2 separate regions of the Homo sapiens genome follow, and region 1 is linked to region 2. The links are contacts of gene promoters, found by promoter capture Hi-C in human tissues and cell types (Jung and others, 2019). All regions are on one chromosome and are shown on one strand. Each heading gives the region's core, a stretch centred on a gene start or on the middle of the fragment in contact. The rest is flanking DNA. Distances are from core to core; before and after follow the strand shown.

Evidence for each region. The method cuts DNA at HindIII sites, captures the fragments that hold promoters and counts their contacts. A contact is called where the count stands out against the background at its distance.
Region 1: a contact is called between the fragment with the promoter of CYP4F2 here and the fragment with the promoter of OR10H2 in region 2, in 1 of the 25 tissues and cell types used here (pancreas).

The regions. Positions count from the first base shown.
Region 1 is chr19:15,896,385-15,903,178 of GRCh38, reverse strand. It overlaps CYP4F2 (cytochrome P450 family 4 subfamily F member 2), which reads left to right and starts at 5,105. Exons shown (of 13, transcript NM_001082.5): 1 at 5,105-5,153; 2 at 5,567-5,765. The coding sequence starts at 5,568. It also overlaps the pseudogene LOC100421620 and the pseudogene LOC89844. The HindIII fragment of the contact is 5,329 bases long and covers 2,561-6,794 here.
Region 2 is chr19:15,724,667-15,732,144 of GRCh38, reverse strand. OR10H2 (olfactory receptor family 10 subfamily H member 2) reads right to left here and starts at 4,121. Exons shown (of 1, transcript NM_013939.2): 1 at 3,093-4,121. The coding sequence starts at 4,101. The coding sequence ends at 3,154. The HindIII fragment of the contact is 21,841 bases long and covers 1-7,478 here.

The DNA.
Region 1 (6,794 bases), core at 3,856-6,355, 170 kb before region 2:
ACCTGGAGCCCTCGGATGTGCCGCAGGACGTGTACAGCGGCGTGGCCGCGCAGGTGGAGGTGTTCCGTAGGCAGGACGCCCAGCGGGGCATGCGGGTGGCACAGGTGCTGGAAGCCTTCATCACCCGCAAGGTGGTGAAGCAGACAGTGATGACCGTGGTGTACGGGGTCACCCGCTACGGTGGGCGCCTGCAGATTGAGAAGCGCCTCCGGGAGCTGAACGACTTTCCCCAGGAGTTCGTGTGGGAGGCCTCCCACTACCTCGTACGCCAGGTCTTCAGGAGTCTACAGGAGATGTTCTCGGGGACCCGGGCCATCCAGCACTGGCTGATCGAGAGCGCCCACCTCGTCTCCCACACGGGCTCTGTGGTGGAGTGGGTCACCCCCCTGGGCGTCCCCATCATCCAGCCGTATCGCCTGGAGTCCAAGGTCAAGCAATCAGGAGGTGGAATTCAGAGCATCACTTACACCCACAACAGAGACATCAGCCGGAAGCCCAACACACCTAAGCAGAAGAACGGCTTCCGGCCCAACTTCATCCACTCGCTGGACTCCTCACACATGATGCTCACCACCCTGCACTGCTACAGGAAGGGCCTGACCTTCGTCTCTGTGCACGACTGTTACCGGACCCATGCAGCTGATGTCTCCATCATGAACCAGGTGTGCCGGGAGCAGTTTGCTTGCACAGCGAGTCCATCCTGCAGGACCTGTCCAGGTTCCTGGTCAGGCGGTTCTGCTCTGAGCCCCAGAAGATCTTGGAGGCCAGCCAGATGAAGGAGACACTGCAGGTGGTGCCCAAGCCAGGGGCCTTCGACCTGGAGCTGGTGAAGCGTTCCACCTACTTCTTCAGCTGACACCCGGCGGGCCTTGTGCCAGTGTGTAAATAAAGCTCTTTTGCCACCCCCTCAAAAAAAAAAAAGTCTAGTAGAATTAATCAGTGAACCAATTGGGGTCTTGGCTTTCTGTTTTGGAAGGTTATTAATTATTGTTTCAATCGATTTAATAGATATAGGCCTATTCGGATTATCTATTAGCACTTACCTTTTATTCTTTTCTTTCCCCTTCTCGTATCTTTTGGATGGATGGAAGGTAAATGATGGTATATACATGTGATTCAAAATTATGTAGCTGGTAAAAATTATAACATTGATAGAGAAATATAGGACCCATATGCATTATTTAAATACCTATATAATAATCATAAAACATGTTTATGCCATAAGTGCAAGGATTGAAGGACAATATGAAAAGTGTAGTTAGGTGAATCTTACAAATTATTTAAAGAGACTGTTTAAGGTTAGTCAAGCAGAGTGACATACAGAAAAGAAGACTACTATTAAATCATTGGCAATATCCCTCTGTATTAGGCCACTCTTGTGTTGCTATAAAGAAATACCTGGCTGGGTATGGTGGCTCATGCCTGTAATCCCAGCATTTTAGGATGCCAAGGTGGGAGAATTGCTTGAGGCTTGGAGTTTAAGACCAAAAAAAAAAAAAAAAAAAAAGGAAATACCTGAGACTGGGTAATTTGTAAACAAAAGAGGTTTAACTGGATCACGGTTCTGCAGGCTGTACAGGAAGCATAGTGGCATCTGGTTCTGGGGAGGCCTCAGGGAGCTTTTACTCGTGTTAGAAGGCAAAGTGGGAGCGGGCACATCACTTGGCAAAAGCAGGAGCAAGAGAGAGAGGGTCAGGTGCTACACAGTTTTAAATAACCATATCTTGCAAGAACTCACTAACACGAAGACCACATCAAGCCATGAGGGATCCGCCCCCATGATCCAAACACCTCCCACCAGGCGCCACATCCAGCATTGGGGATTACAATTCAACATGAGATTTGGGAAGGGACACAGACAGACCCAAACCATATCAACCCCTAATGCCAGCAGAACCACTGAGTAGCTTTAGGATCTTCAGAAAGGATTTTAAAGCTCGAATAGTCCCAGCACTGTAATAATTACAAGAGAAAATGTAACTACAATGTAGCATCTACACAATAATTGTGATTCTCTTCTCCGTTCTTGTTCAATCCAATGTTTAATATAAAAATTCAAGTGAAGGTAAATAAAAGCATTGGGGAATGACCTTGCCATGTGGTATTAAGAAGAAGATTCTCAAGCACAACTGCCTAAGTTGCAATTACCACAGCTACATCTAGAAGGAAGATGTGAGAGTTTTCATTCCACATTAACTAGAAACCTAGCATGAGGCAGATGGCTGGAAGCAGTCGAGGGAGTGTCCAAGACCTTACACAGAAAATCATGTTCAGAGAGGAAGCTTGTTGCTCATTCCTTTTTTGTGCCCAGCTGCCTGGGTTCCCTTCTCCACCATTTTATTTGGTAGTAAGCTATCTAGAGAACTTGCTCCCTACGCTGAGCCAATAAGCGAAATGTGTGAGCTTTGAAGGATACAGTTTCATTTCGAGGAATGGAGAATATCTGTGCAAAGTTGGGGCAGTTCAGAGCAGAGTGAGCTGCAGACTGTTCTGCAGGTATGGGGCTGGAAGTCTTCACACGACCTCATAGTCCTGGCACCCAAACTTACTCAGACAATGGTGTGTCCGGAATTGGTGGGTTCTTGGTCTCACTGACTTCAAGAATGAAGCCGCGGACCCTCGCGGTGAGTGTTACAGCTCTTAAGGTGGCGCGTCTGGAGTTTGTTCTTTCTGATGTTCAGATGTGTTCGGAGTTTCTTCCTTCTGGTGGGTTCGTGGTCTCGCTGGCTCAGGAGTGAAGCTGCAGACTTTCGCGGTGAGTGTTACAGCTCATAAAAGCAGTGTGAACCTAAAGAGTGAGCAGCAGCAAGATTTATTGCAAAGAGTGAAAGAACAAAGCTTCCACAATGTGGAAGGGGGCCTGAGCGGGTTGCCACTGCTGGCTCGGGCAGCCTGCTTTTATTCTCTTATCTGGCCCTACCTATGTCCTGCTGATTGGTAGAGCCAAGTGGTCTGTTTTGACAGGGCGCTGATTGGTGCGTTCACAATCCTTGAGCTAGACACAAAGGTTCTCCACGTCCCCACCAGACTCAGAAGCCCAGCTGGCTTCACCCAGTGGATCCCGCACCGGGGCTGCAGGTGGAGCTGCCTGCCAGTCCCGCGCCGTGCGCTCGCACTCCTCAGCCCTTGGGTGGTCGATGGGACTGGGCGCCCTGGAGCAGGGGGCGGCGCTCATCGGGGAGGCTCGGGCTGCACAGGAACCTACGGAGGCCGGGGGCTCAGGCATGGCGGGCTGCAGGTCCTGGGCCCTGCCCCGCGGGAAGGCAGCTAAGGCCCGGCGAGAAATCGAGCGCAGCGCCGGTGGGCTGGCACTGCTGGGGGACCGAGTACACCTTCCCGAGCAGCCGCTGGCCCGGGTGCTAAGCCCCTCATTGCCCGGGGCTGGCAGGGCCGGCCGGCTGCTCCGAGTGCGGGGCCTGCCAAGCCTACGCCCACCTGGAACTCTAGCTGGCCCGCAAGTGCCGCGCGCAGCCCCGGTTCGTACTCGCGCCTCTCCCTCCATACCTCCCTGCAAGCTGAGGGAGCCGGCTCTGGCCTTGGCCAGCCTAGAAAGGGGCTCCTACACCTATAAGTGAGAATATGCGGTGTTTGGTTTTTTGTTCTTGCGATAGTTTACTGAGAATGATGATTTCCAATTTCATCCATGTCCCTACACAATGAGAACATATGGACACAGGAAGGGGAACATCACACTCTGGGGACTGTTGTGGGGTGGGGGGAGGGGGGAGGGATAGCATTGGGAGATATACCTAATGCTAGATGACGAGTTAGTGGGTGCAGCGCACCAGCATGGCACATGTATACATATGTAACTAACCTGCACATTGTGCGCATGTACCCTAAAACTTAAAGTATAATAATAATAATAAAAAAATCCAAAAAAAAAGAAAAGAAGAGAAAAGAAAGGGGCTCCCACAGTGCAGCGGTGGGCTGAAGGGCTCCTCAAGTGCCGCCAAAGTGGGAGCCCAGGCAGAGGAGGCGCCGAGAGCGAGTGAGGGCTGTGAGGACTGCCAGCATGCTGTCACCTCTCAGTGGGAGCAGGTGTGACAAGAGTTGGGCAAATCAGACCTTTAATCCACCCTGATAGGCTGGAGTGTGGGCTTATGGCATTTCTCCTTTGACCCAATTAACCTCCACTCCCAATGTATCTCTGTGCAGAAGGCTCAGCTAGGTGTATCAGCCATTGTAAATCCTCAACATAAATTATAATTTAACCTAGAATACAGAGACTAGGTAGCAGGAGGAGAGGAAATGTAGAGATACTAATCTCTTCTCCCTTATCAGAAAGAAACCTAGCATAAGAAATTTCACGCTTAATGGGCCAAAGAGTAAATCAGAAAACTCCATGGGTGATGGTATGCTCATGGTGGTGGTGGTGGTGATGGGGAATTATTTGCCCTCCTGTGACCTCCCTTGGATTAATTTCTCCCCAGGACAATGGGAAAAATCATTTAATCCTTGGAGTTTTTTTTTTTTTTTTTTTTTTTTTTTTTTTTTTTTTTGCTTGAGAGTGACTCTGATCCTGTTTCTGATGGTCATGTTCCTCAGCATCATACTGAGTAAGTCACTGGCCTTGTAGCATCTGGAGTGATTGGAGTGATCCAAGATCCCTAGTTCCCATGTCACAAATGAGGATCCCACATATCTGGGACAGAGATGGAACATTATTTCTGGGTGTGTCTATCTAATCTATTCATCCTATCTATCTAATTTCTCATCTATATATATATTTGCCTACCCATCCATCCATCAATCCATCTTAGCTGTACGTTTATCCATTCCATCTATTTATCCTATTATCTATGTATCTATCTATCATCTATTAATAGCTATCTATCCATCTGTCTAATATATCCATTATCTATATCTACTTTATCTATCTACCTAATGTATCCATCCTATCTACTCTATCTATCTGTGCATCTACCCATCCATCTGGACCCTGAGCTGATTCCTCTGCACCCAGCTGGCCTGACGCCAGGTGTTGATTGGCTGCCCAGGCTCAGGAGACACATCCAGGCTGCAGGGATTGGTTGGCCCAGCCCAACCCAGCCAGCCCTCCCACAGCCTTTGCTATATCAAGGGCCAGGGTCAAAGGCCTCCCAGCAGACAGAGAGAGGAGGTTGTCTGGGACAGACTGCTCCTGACAGAAGGTGCCAGGCTGGGGGTGGCAGGCCTGGGGGGGGTCCTGGCCTGGGATGGAGAGGGGCACTGCCCAAGGCCCACGCAGCTCCTGGGTGCTGGCCTGGAGGATGGGTGGTTTCCGAGTAACTGAAACCAAGCCCCTGGCAACCTCACAGTGATTCAGGCTGGGCCTTTCTGGACTTTAATCAGTCTCTCTCTCTCTTTCCCATTCTAAGTGCTTACTAGGGAACTGGAGGCCACTTGGCTGCTGGTTTTGGTTGGGCCTTTCTGGACTTTACCTCTCAGCCCCTTTTTACCCATCCCTGAGCCCTCCCTGCTCTACCTCCGGCACTGCCCGTCCCTGCCTCTCCACTGTCCCTGGAGGTCCCTGGGCCGTTCTCTGGGCCTCAGGATCTCACCGTCCATCCCGTCTGCCCTGCAGGATGTCCCAGCTGAGCCTGTCCTGGCTGGGCCTCTGGCCAGTGGCAGCATCCCCTTGGCTGCTCCTCCTGCTGGTCGGGGCCTCCTGGCTCCTGGCCCATGTCCTGGCCTGGACCTACGCCTTCTATGACAACTGCCGCCGCCTTCGGTGTTTCCCACAACCCCCAAGACGGAACTGGTTTTGGGGACACCAGGGCATGGTGAGTGTGGCAGCAGGATGGGTCTAGGTCTCAGGATGGATGGACTTCCTGAGGGGTACGAGGCTTAGGGAGTGGGGGTGAAGGGGTGGGCTGGGATCTGGGGTGGCAGAGAAGCAGAGGAGGCATCTTACTCATTCCTCTGCTTATTCATTTCTGTGAGGTGCCTACGCAAGCCCTTCTCACTTCCTTGTCCTCCCACTCCAGGCCTGCATTGAATCCTTTTCCTGCCTGTCTTCCCACATTAATGCACCTCTGCGGGGCTCCTGGGCAGAGGGTTGGCTGCACAGAGAGGCGAGTCCCTGGCATTCCCACATTCTCCATTGCTGGACTCGAGGCTTCTTATGCCCACTGTCCAGGGTCCTCTCCTTGCCTGGACTATTTCCTGTTATGAGGGTACAGCTGGGCCAGAGGAGAGGCATGGGCCGTCTCCCACTTCCACTACACCCGAAGGCACCTTTCTCTTATATTCTTCTTCTTATCTCCCTCTTATCAATGAGACCTGTTGCCAAACCCAGATAAAAGTTGGCCACTCACTTCACCTTTCAGAAGCTTTCCTTGGCCTTTCTCCTCCCCGTGACCTTGCCCTCTGACTTAGACCGCTCTCCTCTTTGGGGAATGTGGTCTTAGTCTGCTCATTTGCAAATGGCAGGATTGATGGATGTGTCCACAGATAAAGTGGAAGGGTGCACAGGACACACTAGCACAGAGCCTGCTGCAGAAGCTGCTCCCAGGTGGGAGCCATTGTCCTGATGGACAGTTAGAGTCACCTCTGCTCCACTAGTGGCTGCTGAAAAGGGAAGGTCTCCCATGTGCAGAACCTTCTCCATGGGAGGAACTGGAGCCTCTGTGGATCAGCCAGGACATGAAGGCATGTGGGGACCAGCCTTAGGGACATGTCCTGAGGCGATACTGCTCCCCACAAATCTCCCCTGTGAGGACCTCCCCATATAGCTGCCTCTGGGCTGAAATGACTCCCAGAAAAAGAAAATCCTTCCTCTCAAGATAACTGGGCCTCTGTGAGTGGACAGT
Region 2 (7,478 bases), core at 2,872-5,371:
TTCTTTCCTGGGACAATAAGGCTTCACTCACTTCTGAGCCCCATTAAGGACACAACCCAATATGCTTATCCTGGACTAGGCACGTTCTGTTCACAAAGCCATAAAATTAGATGCACAATCCAATTTGTCAGCAAGTACAAGTAGTATATAGCAAACTAGGCTCGAGGCAGTCTTTTTTTTTTTTTTTTTTTTCTGAGACAGGGTCTCATTCTGTCACCCAGGTTGGATTGCAGTAATGTGATCACAGCTCACTGCAGCCTCAATCTCCTGGGCTCAAGTGATCCTCCTGCCTCAGCCTCCTGAGTATCTGGGACTAGAGGCTAGTGCAAACATGCCCAGCTAATATTTTGTATTTTTTTTTTTGTAAAATTGGGGTTTCCCTGTGTTGCCAAGGCTGGTCTCAAACTCCTGGACTTAAGTTAACCTTCCACCTAAGCCTCCCAAGTAGCTAAGATTGCAGGCATGAGCCACCATGCCCACTTTCCACAGCTTGTATAGAGAAATCTCTTTCTAGAACTCAATCTCCCTCAAAACCTTTGAGAAATTAAAAATAATAAGCAATTTTTGCTGGCACACTTGTCTTTTTACCTGTTACACAGTTTTAGAAATGAAGAGATGATCTATGAAGGGTGCTGGACATAGTATACAGCTCAACATACAGTAGACACTCATACAGTGGCTACCATTATTATTTTACTATTGCTGTGCAACAGCATGGGAAGCAACCTAGTAGCTGGGAATGAAGTGTGTTTACTAATTCAGTATGAATGATGTGTCTGCCTAGGGCCATGTGTGTGTGTGATGATTATTTCCTCATCCTCACAAACTTATATAATCACAGACATAGGTCACTGATGGAAGTTCACAGACAGGATTCATTCAACCACACTGAACCCAGCCAAAACTAAGATTAGGCCCCTACCTCACACCATACACAAAGTTTGACACTCAAAATATATCAAAAACCCAAATGTAAGAGCTAAAACTACAAAACTCTTATGAGGCAACGTAGATGTTCATGACCTTAGATAAAGCAATACAATGTTTTTTTAGATGTGACACCAAAAGCACAAGCAACAACAAAAAAAAATAGGTACACTGATGTTATCAAAATGTAAATCTATTGTGCTACAGAAAGACACCAAAAAGACCATGAAAACACAACCCACAAACTATAAGGAAATAACTGAAAATCACAGATCAGATAAAAGAGTCTTAACTAAAAATATAAAGCATTCTTACAACTTAACAACAAAAATACAAACAACCCAATTGGAAAATGGGTGGAGTATCTCAATAGCTATTTCTCCAAGAACATATCTAAATAGCCAATAAGCACATGATGAGATGTTCAACATCCTTACTCACTAGGGAAATGCAGATCAAAACCACAATGAGATACCACTTCACACCCACGAAGATGGCTGTGATCAAAAAGACAGTAACAAGTATTGGTGAGGTTGCAGAGACCTAGACCCCTGCAGCATTGCTGGTGGGAATGTAAAATGGTGCATAGACTTTAGGAAACAGCTTGGAAGTTCCTAAAAAAATAAACATAGAAATACCACTTGACCCAGCAATTTCACTCCTAGGTATATATCCCAAGGAAATGAAAGCATATATTGCAACACTTGTACTGATCACTCATAGCAGTATTACTCAAAATAGCAAAAATTAGAAACACTGAAATGTCCATCAATGACAAATGGGTAAATAAAATGTAGTGTTTCCATACAATGGAATATTATTTGGCAATCAAAATGATATACTGGCTGGGCACGGTGGTTCATGCCTGAAATCCCAGCACTTTAGGAGGCCGAGGTGGGTGGAGTGTTTGAGGTCAGGTGTTCAAGACCAGCCTGGCCAACATGGTGAAACCCCGTCTCTACTGAAATACAAAAATTAGCCAGGCATGGTGGCAGGCATCTGTAATCCCAGCTATTTGGAAGGCTGAGGCAAGAGAATCACTTGAACCTGGGATGCGAAGGTTGCAGTGAGCCAAGATCATGCCACTGCACTCCAGCCTAGGTGACAGGGTGAGACTCTGTCTTGAAAAAAAAAAAAGATGATGTACTGATACAAGCTACAATGTAGGAGAACTTCAAAAACATTATGCTCAGTGAAACAATTCATCTGAAAATAAAAGAATTATATTTACAGTTGTCCATTGATGTGAAACGTCCAGAAAAAGCAACTCTAACCAGACAGAAAGATTAGTGGCTCCCTAGGGCTGGAGGGCATGGAGATTTGGAGGAAACAGAGAGTGACTGATAATGAGTATGGGTTGTTTGTTTGTTTGAGACAAGGTTTGGCTCTGTTGCCCAAGTCAGAGTTCAGTGGTGATCATGGCTCACTGCAGCCTCGAACTCCTGGATGCAAGCAATCCTCCCACATCAGCCTCTGGAGTAGCTGGGGCTACAGGAATGTGCCACCCCATTTAGCTAATTATCAGAATTTTTGTGTGTGTCAGGAAGGGGAACATCACAGACTGGGGCCTGTTGTGGGGTAGGGGGAGTGGGGAGGGATAGCATTAGGAGATATACCTAATGTTAAATGACAAGTTAATGGGTGCAGCACACCAACATGGCACATGTATATGTATGTAACTAACCTGTACGTAGTGCATATGTACCCTAAAACTTAAAGTGTAATAAATTAAAAAAAAAAGAACTTGTGTGTGTGTATGTGTTTGTGTGTGTGTGTAGATGGCATCTCACTATGTTGTCCAGACCGATCGTGAATTCCTGACATCAAACAATTCTCCCACTCAGCCTTCCAAAGCACTAGGATTTGGGTTTCTTTTTTGGATGACTAAAATACTCTAAGCCAGATTGTCATGATGGTTGCATAACTCTGAATACGCAAAAACCACAGAAATGTGCGCTCTAATGGGTACATTGTATGGTAGGTGAATTACATCTTAATAAAGCTACTATAACTCAAAAATTAAAACTCAGATAAAGACATACAGATCAAGAGTTGTGGAAGTAAACATGCTTTTAACATTTACTGAGCACCTACTATGTGATGAGTGTTGTCATATACAGAAATCTTTACACCTGCCTTACAAGGTAAGCATTACTAGCCACACTGTGCAGACAAGGTGATGGTCATCCTCCTATCATATTCTATCAGCACTTCCACACCAGCTACTCAGGTGCCTGAGGAATAGAGTGTGCTGAGGAAGGTCCTCTTCATGGCAACCTTCAGTTCTTTGTTCCTGAGGCTGAAGATGATGGGGCTGAGGAAGGGCGTGAGGACTGCGTAGGTGGTGGCCATCAGGGTGTCACCCTCCTGAGAGTGGGGACCTTTGGGCTTGAGGTAGATGACAGAGGCAAAGCCATAGTGCACAATGACCACAATAAGGTGAGAGGCACAGGTGGAGAAGGCCTTGTTCCGACCTTCAGCAGAAGGGATCTTCAAGATGTCGGCCACGATGAAGGCATAGGAGAGGAGGATGAGGAGAAAACAGCCCAGCAGTGCCATGATACATACCAAGCCCACGCCCAGGGCCACAGCTGGTACATTATTTCCACAGGCCAACTTCAACAGAGGTGGCACATGACATAAAAAATGCTGGATCTCATGGGATCCACAGAAAGTCAGTTGGAAAATGGCCGAGGTCACCACCATCCCCATGACCGAGCCACCAGCCCAGGAGCAGCCCACCAGGCAGGCGCAGCCCCGTGGGCTCATGAGCACGTTGTAGCGCAGGGGGTGGCAGATGGCCACGTAGCGGTCGTAGCCCATGACGGTGAGCAGGAAGGAGTGGGTGAAGCCGAAGCTGAAGGAGAAGAACATCTGACTGGCACAGGCCAGGAAGGCGATGGAGCGCTGGGTGGACAGCAGGTCGGCCAGCATGCGCGGGATGATGGCCACGGTGTAGAGGATCTCGGAGACTGAGAGGACGCACAGGAAGAGGTACATGGGCGTGTGGAGGCTGCGCTCGCTCCAGACGGTGGCCATGATGAGCAGGTTGCCCAGCAGCGTGAACAGGTACATCAGCAGGAACAGCAGGAAGAGCATCAGTTGGAGGTGGGGGAAGGCAGAGAAGCCGACGAGGATGAATTCAGACATGGAGGTGTGGTTTAGCCCCAGCATGACGGCCACCCCTAGTTGGGGAAGAGAGGAAAGAAGACCCAGTGGTTAGGAGCATGGGGGTGTCTAGTGATTCCTGCCTGGGAGGACATCTGAGAGCGCCTCCTTCATCTGTCCAAGCCATGGTTACTCCATCTGCAGAAAGGCATTAATAATAATGTATTGAGGTTTAAATAAGATCACTCACCTTAAGTGCTTTGTGCAGGTCCTGACACAAAGTAAGAATTTAATAAATTATAAATGTTGATAGTAATAATTATTCTGCTATTGTTATTGCCATCACGATTATTAGATCCATGCACCACCACCTACACCTTGCTTTTCTGCCTTTGTTCATGCTGGTCTTTTCATGCTTTTCCCTATCTTTATGGGTCCAAATCCTACCTGAATTTTATGAGCAAGCTGCTCCCTGATTGCCACCTTCAGCTGGAAGTCATCTCTTCCCTATGTCATGGAAACGTCCAGACTCTGTTTAATTCTCGGCACCACTGCTTTCTAGCTGTGAGATGCAGGGCAGGTTGCTTCCCCTCTCTGAGCCTCATTGCTCCCCTGGAAAATTGAAACCACCTTTGCAAAATTATGACTGAGACAGCGAAAGAGATCTAACTTAACCAACTCCATCTTGCTTCTAACCTCCAAGCTGTCCTTGTTCATTCCAGGACATAGGGTGAACTAACTTTGGGGGAAATTTAGTTTATAGTTTATAGTTTATAGTTTGGAACAAGGACGATAACAGCCCTTTCCCAAAGCAGACCTCCTTCTTGTCTGGGGATTAGATTGCCTTTGTAGAACTAACATTAGCCACAAGATTAGAAATTATGGTTTAGGAGTCATGCAGCTGGAGGCTACAAGATTCTGACCCTCCCTAAATTGCTCCCAAGATCAGTGCTTGAGATATTTTGCAGATCCTGCACTTGATGGATCAGCTGGCACCACCCAGGTCGATAAACTGGCTCAACTGATCTTGTGGCCCCCACCCAGGAACTGACTCTCCGCAAGAAGACAGCTTTGATTTCATCTCTGACCAATCAGCACTGCTGGCTCACTGGCTTCCCCTCCACCCACCAAGTTGTCCTTAAAAACTCTGCTCCCCAAGTGCTCAGGGAGACTGATTTGAGTAATAATAAAACTCCAGTCCCCTGCAGAGCCAGCTCTGTGTGAATTACTCTTTCTCTATCACAATTCCGCTTTTTTTTTTTTTTTTCTTTGAGACAGAGTCTCACTCTGTCCCTGCTGGAATGCAGTGGCATGATCTCGGCTCACTGCAACCTCCGCCTCCTGGGTTCAAGCAATTCTCCTGCCTCCGCCTCCTGAGTAGCTGGGATTACAGGCCCGCATCACCACACCTGGCTAATTTTTGTATTTTTAGTAGAGATGGGGTTTAACCATGTTGCTCGGGCTGGTCTTGAACTTCTGAGTTCAAGTGATCAGCCTGCCTCAGCTTCCCAAAGTGCTGGGATTTATAGGTGTGAGCCACCATGCCCAGTCAAAAACTTCTTAGCAGAAAATGGTTATGGTCCACTGACCTCTAGGCTATGGGCCCAGCATGCTTCCACTACGTGACTCTGCTGGTCTCCTCCTCTTTTTGACCCCAACCCCAATCCTCCAATCCCAAACCTAACAGCAAAAACCTAGGCTATCAGCCATGGCTTCTCTCATCACCTTCCCTGAGTGGCCACAGAGTCAGATCTGCCCAATTTCTCTGCCAGGGCAGCTCTCCTCCCTGCACCAATAGGAGCCCTTCTACTTTATTTAGTTTATGGAAGTTCCCCAACAAACTAAACTAGGAGGCTGTGACTCCTCTCCCACTCTCTTTCTTGCCAGTCTGCAAACAGGCTAGATGCAAAATACAAAAGTTTATGTTACAATGCAAACTGGATCAATGAATGAATGGATAAACAAAATGTGGTCCGACCACACAATGAAATATTATGCAACCACGCAAAGATTGAATCAGTGATACATGCAACAGCGTGGATGCACTTTGAGAACATGAGGCTGAGTGAAGGAAGCCAGACACAAAAGGCCACATAGTATATAATTCCATTTATAAGAAATGTCCAGAATAGTTAAATCCACTGAGAAAGAAAGCAGATGTGTGGTTGTCAGGGAATGGGGCTAGCGTGGGATGGGGAATGACTGATGAATGGATATGAAGTTCTTTTTGGAATGGTGACAATGTCTTGTAACTAGAGGTAGTAGCTGCACAACATGTTAATGTACTAAATGCCACTGATTGTCCACTTTAAAATATTTAAAGGATAATTTCAGGTTAAATAAATTTAATCTAAATTTTTGAAAGCTCATGCCAGTTAAAACAGCTTTTATCTAAAAGATAGAAGACAATAAATAGCTTTGTCCAAAAGATAGAGAATCCAGGTGAGAACACAGAGAAAAGGGAATCCTCATACACTGTTGGTGGCGATGTAAATTAGTACAGCCACTATGGAGAACAGTATGGAAGTTTCCCAAAAACTAAAATAGAACTACCTTACAATCCAGCAATCTCACTGCTAGGCATATACCCTAAAGAAAGAAAATCATAATTTTATTTTTGAGACAGTCTCACTGTATTGCCCAGGCTGGAGTGCAATAGCATATTCTCACCTCACTACAACCTCCACCTCCTAGGTTCAAGAGATTCTCCTGCATCACCCTCCCACTTAGCTGGGATTACAGGTGCCTGCCACCACACCCAGCTAATTTTTGTATTTTTAGTAGAGAGGGGTTTCACCATTTTGGCCAGGCTGGTCTCAAACTCCTGACCTCAAGTGATCCACCCACTTCAGCCTCCCAAAGTGCTGGGATTACAGATGTGAGCCAGGAAATTAGTACATTGAAGAGATTTCTTCACTCATGCTTACTGCAGCACTATTCACAATAGCCCAGATTCGGAAGAAACCTAAGTGTCCATCAACAGAGAATTAGTTAAAGAAAATGTGGTACATATACACAATGGAGTATTACTCAGACACAAAAAAGGAATGAGATCCAGTCCTTTGCAACAAAATGAATGGAACTGGAGGTCATTATGTCAAGTGAAATAAGCCAGGCACAGAAAGACAGACTTTGCATGTTCTCATTCATTTGTGGTAGCCAAAAGTTAAAAGAATTGCTTTCAGGGACATAGAGAGCAGAAGGATGTTTATTAGAGGCTGGGAAGGGTAGTGCACATAGCTGGGGGGGAGTGGGGATGATTAATGCGTAAAAAAGTATAGTTAGACAGAATGAATAAGATCTAGTATTTGATATCACAACAGGGGGATTACAATCAACAATAATTTAATGTATATTTTATAAGAGCTAAATATAATTAGTTAATATAATAAGTATAGTTGGAGGCCGGGTGTGGTGGCTCATGCCTGTAATCTCAGCATTTT